Linked DNA regions of Homo sapiens: region 2 is linked to region 1. Evidence: promoter capture Hi-C in 16 types of primary human blood cells and fetal thymus (Javierre and others, 2016). All regions are on one chromosome and are shown on one strand. Each heading gives the region's core, a stretch centred on a gene start or on the middle of the fragment in contact. The rest is flanking DNA. Distances are from core to core; before and after follow the strand shown. Region 1 holds the start of PHGR1 (proline, histidine and glycine rich 1). Region 2 overlaps SRP14-DT (SRP14 divergent transcript).

Region 1 (2,700 bases), core at 134-2,633:
ACCATTACCTCCAAGAGCTGATATGAGATAACTGATACTGTAAGAGAAACTGGCACACAAACACTTTCCTGCCCACCGTGGAGATAAAGGAGGATCACTCTTTTCCTCCTCTCCATTTTCCAAATTGTATCCTGATGGTGGTTACGTTACTGCTCTAATTGAGGGGATATAAAGGTGACTAAGAAAGCCACCACAGGCCGGGTGTGGTGGCTCATGCCTGTAATCCCAACACTTTGGGAGGTCGAGGTGGGTGGATCACCTGAGGTTAGGAGTTTGAGACTAGCTTGGCTAACATGGTGAAACCCTGTCTCTACTAAAAATACAAAAGTTAGCCAGGAGTGGTGGCGGGCGCCTGTAATTCCAGCTCCTCGGATGGCTGAGGCAGGAGAATCACTTGAACCCAGGATGCAGAGGTTGCAGTGAGCTGACATCGTGCGACTGCACTCCAGCCTGGGTGACACAGAGAGACTCCGTCTCAGAAAGAAAAGAAAGAGAGAAAGAGAGAGAGGAGGAGGAGGAGGAGGAGGGAAGGAGGGAAGGAAGGAAGCCACAACAGCCCCTGCCTCTGAGGAGCACAGAGTCCCCACTGGGATCAAGAGACATCAGGAGCAAGGATCCAGGGAGACAGGAGAGCTGAGCAAGGGCACTGGCTCTGTCTGCAGGGGACTAAGGAAGGCCACCATGGCTAGAGCACGCCAAGCAAGAGGTTGTGGCAGGCATCAGAGGCCACAGGGGTCAGTGGGGACCGGACCACAAGGGGCTTTCGGAGTGCAGAGCAAGCTGGCAGGCTGGGCTCCCTCCCCGCCTGCCTAGATCCATCCCAAAAGTTCCCTTTTCTGTGTCTAATTTCCATTCTCAGGCTAGCTCCCTGGGCTGGGCAGCACATCTGACAATTCAGGCCTGGGGCTTGGCGCCCAGGGCAAATATTCCACCAGGTCCTCCACTATGGTCACTATTTATTCCTCCACCTGCTGAAAGGAGGTAATCATCCTATCTATCTTGTGGGACTCATTGGGTTACTAATGTGTGTGAAGCACCGCATGCCTGGCCTGGCATTCAGTAGGAACTCTACAAATGTTCAGAGCCAGTCCCTGGTGTAAACAGCCTTGCCAGTGTTGGGGACTTCTGCCTGGATTCTGTGGCATCTCGTTACCACACCAATCTGGTAACGGCTTGTTCCCCAGCCTCCCCATCACACACACACACACACACACACACACACACACACACACATCCTGCTTTCAACTGTCCTTTGCCCAGATAAGGATTAGCCCATCCCTCTTCATTCCCTCGAGCCTTCTGCATCTGGCCCTCCCAGTGCACCTGTTCAATCCCAGCCCCTCCCTGACCTGTACAAATACACCTGAGGACAGACAGTGCCCCAGACTTCCTGCCCCTGCTCTGCACTCTCAGGTAGGGACCTGGCTCTACTTGCTGTTGGCTGGGGACAGTAGGGTCTCTGTGGGGTATGTTGTGTGTGCATGTGGTCAGGGTCTCTCTGGGTGTGTATATGCATTGAATTGGTATCCGTGCTTCCGTGTCTCTGCATGAGGGTGTGTGTCTGTCCATTTGCACTGTCCCCACTCCTGGGCTGGGCCCCTACACTTCCACTGTCTTCTTCAGTTATGATTTATAGCCTTTGCCATGCCAGGCAGCAGGGCTTAGCTGAGAGTGGAAGAAATTGCATGAGGTCCCTTCCAGAGCTGCCAACTCCTGTCCCTCAAACACCTGGGCCTGAACTGGGGAGATACATTCTGAGGATTGTCTTTTCTCTTTCGTCTTACCCGATCCTGACTGGCCCTGAGGTTTTCTTTACCTCTCCTCCCCGCAAAGCCCAGCCCCATAGGTCTCTTCCAGCTTTATCACTCACTAAGGGAAAGGACGAGGGAGCACGAAGGACCATGGGTATAGTTCACAGGCTGACCTCAGCTGAACACTTTGAGTACAAGTAGAGGCCAGTGAAAATGGGTAGCTCAAGAGGTGCAGGGGGCCGGGTGCAGTGGCTCATGCCTGAAATCCAGCACTTTGGGAGGCTAAGGTGAGAGGATCACTTGAGCCTAGGCTACATAGTGAGACCTTGTCTCTACAAAACAATTTTTTTTTTTGAGACAGAGTCTTACTCTGTCACCCAGGCTGGAGTGCAGTGCTGCAATCTCGGCTCACTGCAGCCTCTGCCTCCCGGGTTCAAGCGATTCTTCTGTCTCAGCCTCCCAAGTAGCTGGGACTACAGGTTCCCGCCACCATGCCCAGCTAATTTTTGTATTTTTAGTAGAGACGGGGTTTCACCATATTGGACAGGCTGGTCTCGAACTCCTGACCTCAAATGATCCACCCATCTAGGCCTCCCAAAGTGCTGGGATTACAGGCATGAGCCGCTGTGCCCAGCCAAAAAAAATTTTTTTAATTAGCTGGGTGTGGTGGCACATACCTATAGTCCCAGCTACTCCAGAGGTTAAGGTGGGAGGATTGCTTGAACCCTGGAGGTCGAGGCTTCAGTGAGCTGTGATCACGCCACTGCACTCCAGCCTGTATGACAAAGTGAGACTGTCTCAAAAAAACTTTTAAAGAGGCACTAAGGCTCCCTAGAAAAAAAAGAGGTTCAGGGGGCTGTGTCTTGCAAGAGGCTAGGGTTGTTGTATTGGGGGCGCTGTTTGTTTTTGTATGCTCAGCAAACTTGTAAGTACCAGAAAGCCCTGATGT
Region 2 (2,700 bases), core at 197-2,696, 290 kb before region 1:
GATTACAATGTTCTAAAATTGATTGTGGTGATGGTTGCACAACCCTGCAAATATACAAAAAAAAAAAAAAGCCCATTGAATTGTATACTTTCAGTGGGTGAATTATATGATATGTGAATTACATCTCAATAAAGCTGATTTATTTATTTATTCATTTATTTATTTTGAGACAGGATCTTGTTCTGTCGCCTAGGCTGGAGTGCAGTGACGTGACACAATCACAGCTCACTGCAGCCTCGACCTCCCAGGCTCAAGTGATCCTCCTACCTCAGCCTCCTAAGTAACTGGGACTATAGGTGCATGCACCACCATACCCAGCTAATTTTTAAGGTGTTTTTTTTTTTTTTGTAGAGACAGGGGTCTCACTATATTGTCCAAGCTAGCCTCAAACTCCTAGGCTTGAGTGATCCTCCTGCCTTGGCCTCTCAAAGTGCTAGGATTATAAGCGTGAGCCACTATGCCCAGCCTTGTTATTTTTTAAAAAAGGATTTTAAAAAATTATAAAAAGGATAATAGGAAGCTGTTAGAGGGTGATTTAATCAGCAGTAACATTCTCACTCAGGCTGTTGTGGGAGAACAAACTGTAGGGAGGGGAGAGTGGGGGCAGGAGATGGTTGGGAAGCTAGTGCAGTCGGCCAGGCAAGGAGCAATAGTGACTTGGCCTGGGTGGGTCACTTTGTGATGAGGATTAATGAAAAGGCCAGACTGGGGTATTTTTTGAAGCTAGAGTTTGATAATTGGTTGTGAGGGGTGGGAGAGAGAGATGAATCCTGGCCATTTAACTGCAGTGAAAAGACTGGAGGAATAGTTGGACAAGCGGAGGGACGGGGCATACGAGTTCTGTTTTGAACATGACAGGCCTCCGAGGTGTCCACTAGGCAGACGGGATGTCAGGGCAGGGTTACCACCATGTAGATGGTCACTGCTAAGAGCTGGGCACTCCTCCAAACACATACATTAAATCATTTAGTCTTCTCAGTAACCTATGAGGCGAGAGCTGTAGCTATCCCTGTCCATAGGGGGCGTATCCTGTGTGCCATTTCAGATGCCCGCGGCCTCACCTCTTGTTCCAGCCATTGCCCCAGTGACCAGTTTTGCACAGGTCTTGACCAGTGCCGTGTAAATGTCGCCTGGCAGGGCCTCTCCACATGCCTCTCGCCCAACACCATGATGGGGGGACACCCATGGAACCTGCTTGGCATTAACACATGAGCCGCCCAGAAGTGAAGGGGAGCTAACATTCCATGGGATGACTCGAGAGGAGCCAATGGATAACTGTCCCCCTTCTTCCAGTGAGTTCTGAAGTACGTTTCATAAAGCTTCACAGAAAGACTGAGTGGTGTTCACTCAGAGAGATGTTAACACACTCCCATATTGACTCCCCCCTTTCTCTGTTTCATTCCTCCTCCCCCTCACCCCTGCTCCCTGGGATCATGTTCCCAAATAAACTACTCATGCTTAAGCCTTTGTCTCAGGCCCCATGTAAGATCTGATCTTACATGGAGAATTTAACAGCAACAACATCACACCAGGGGCATGCTCACCAGGGGCAGAGCAGGGGTTCACACCCCGGCAAGCTTCTCTACTCGCTTCCATGTTGCCTCTCAAAGATCCCAACCTCTAGAGGACATTTAAAGGCACAGGCCTAGATGGAATCTAACCATCTAACCGGGAGAGACTGTAAATAAGAAAAAAGTCCCCACACCATGCTCACATTTAGAGATCAAGAAGAGGAGGAGCCAGCGAAGGAGCCAGAGAAAGAGCTGCCATCCGGGTAGGAGGAAGCCAGACCAGTGTGGAGTCCTGGACTCCAAAGAAAGACAGCGTTGCAAGGAGGAGCGAGTGCCCTACTGTGCAAACGCTGCTGAGAAATTGAGGAGGTGAGACCAGGAGACAGACCTTTTGGATGCGCCAGTAGGAGGTCACTGGTGACTTGGACAAGGGCAGTTTCAATGGAGTGACAGAAACAAAAACTTGGCTGGTGTAGGCTAAGAGGGAATGGAGGTGAAGATTCGGAGAAGTAGCCAGCAGGGACAACCACTTCAAGGAGGGGTGCGTAAAAGGGAGGAGGAAGTGGAGCAGAAGCTGAAGAGGGTGTAGGGTCAAGGAAGAGTTTGTTTTGAAAGTGAGAGAGATCATAGCGCAGTTATGTGCCGAAGGGAATGGTCTGGCAGAGAGAAGGAGCTGGATAGTGCAGGAGGGAGAAAGGTGATTTCAGGCAGTCTTGAGTAAGTGAAGGGATATGGTGCACAAAATGAAGGGATTGGCCAGGGATGCAAGAGGAGGCCATCCCTCCATCTGTCCATCCATCTATCCATCTGTCCATCTGTCTGTCCATCCATCCGTCTGTCCGTCCGTCCGTCTGTCCACCCATCCATCCATCCATCCATCTGTCCGTCTGTCCATCTATCCTTCCGTCCATCCATCCATCCATCCATCTATCCATGCATGCATCCATTGTGAGGAAGAAAGGTAGCAGCGGGCATAGATGCAGGCACCTTGGGAGATCTGATGGTGAGAGGCACGTACGTTCCAGCAGATGACATTTAGTTTCTCAGCAAAATAAGAAGCAAGATCTTTAACTAACAGCGAGAAACTAAGGGAAGGTGTTGAGGGTTGGAGAAGATGTGAAACACTTATCTGGAGAGTGGCGCAGTGAATTTAGTAGAGAAATATAGTAAGATTACTGGGCAAGCTGAG

Evidence for each region. Contacts are between HindIII fragments. The CHiCAGO score rates a contact against its expected background, and 5 or more counts as called.
Region 2: a contact is called between a fragment that was not itself captured here and the fragment with the promoter of PHGR1 in region 1, in 1 of 17 cell types (activated CD4 T cells). The highest score is 5.4, in activated CD4 T cells.

What each region holds. Positions count from the first base shown.
Region 1 is chr15:40,349,650-40,352,349 of GRCh38, forward strand. PHGR1 (proline, histidine and glycine rich 1) reads left to right here and starts at 1,384. Exons shown (of 4, transcript NM_001145643.2): 1 at 1,384-1,413. The HindIII fragment of the contact is 24,416 bases long and covers 1-2,700 here.
Region 2 is chr15:40,058,960-40,061,659 of GRCh38, forward strand. All of the region lies in intron 2 of SRP14-DT (SRP14 divergent transcript), which reads left to right. Among named protein-coding and RNA genes, the nearest start is that of SRP14-DT, 21 kb to the left of the region's middle. RefSeq lists an enhancer at 2,622-2,681. The HindIII fragment of the contact is 258 bases long and covers 1,318-1,575 here.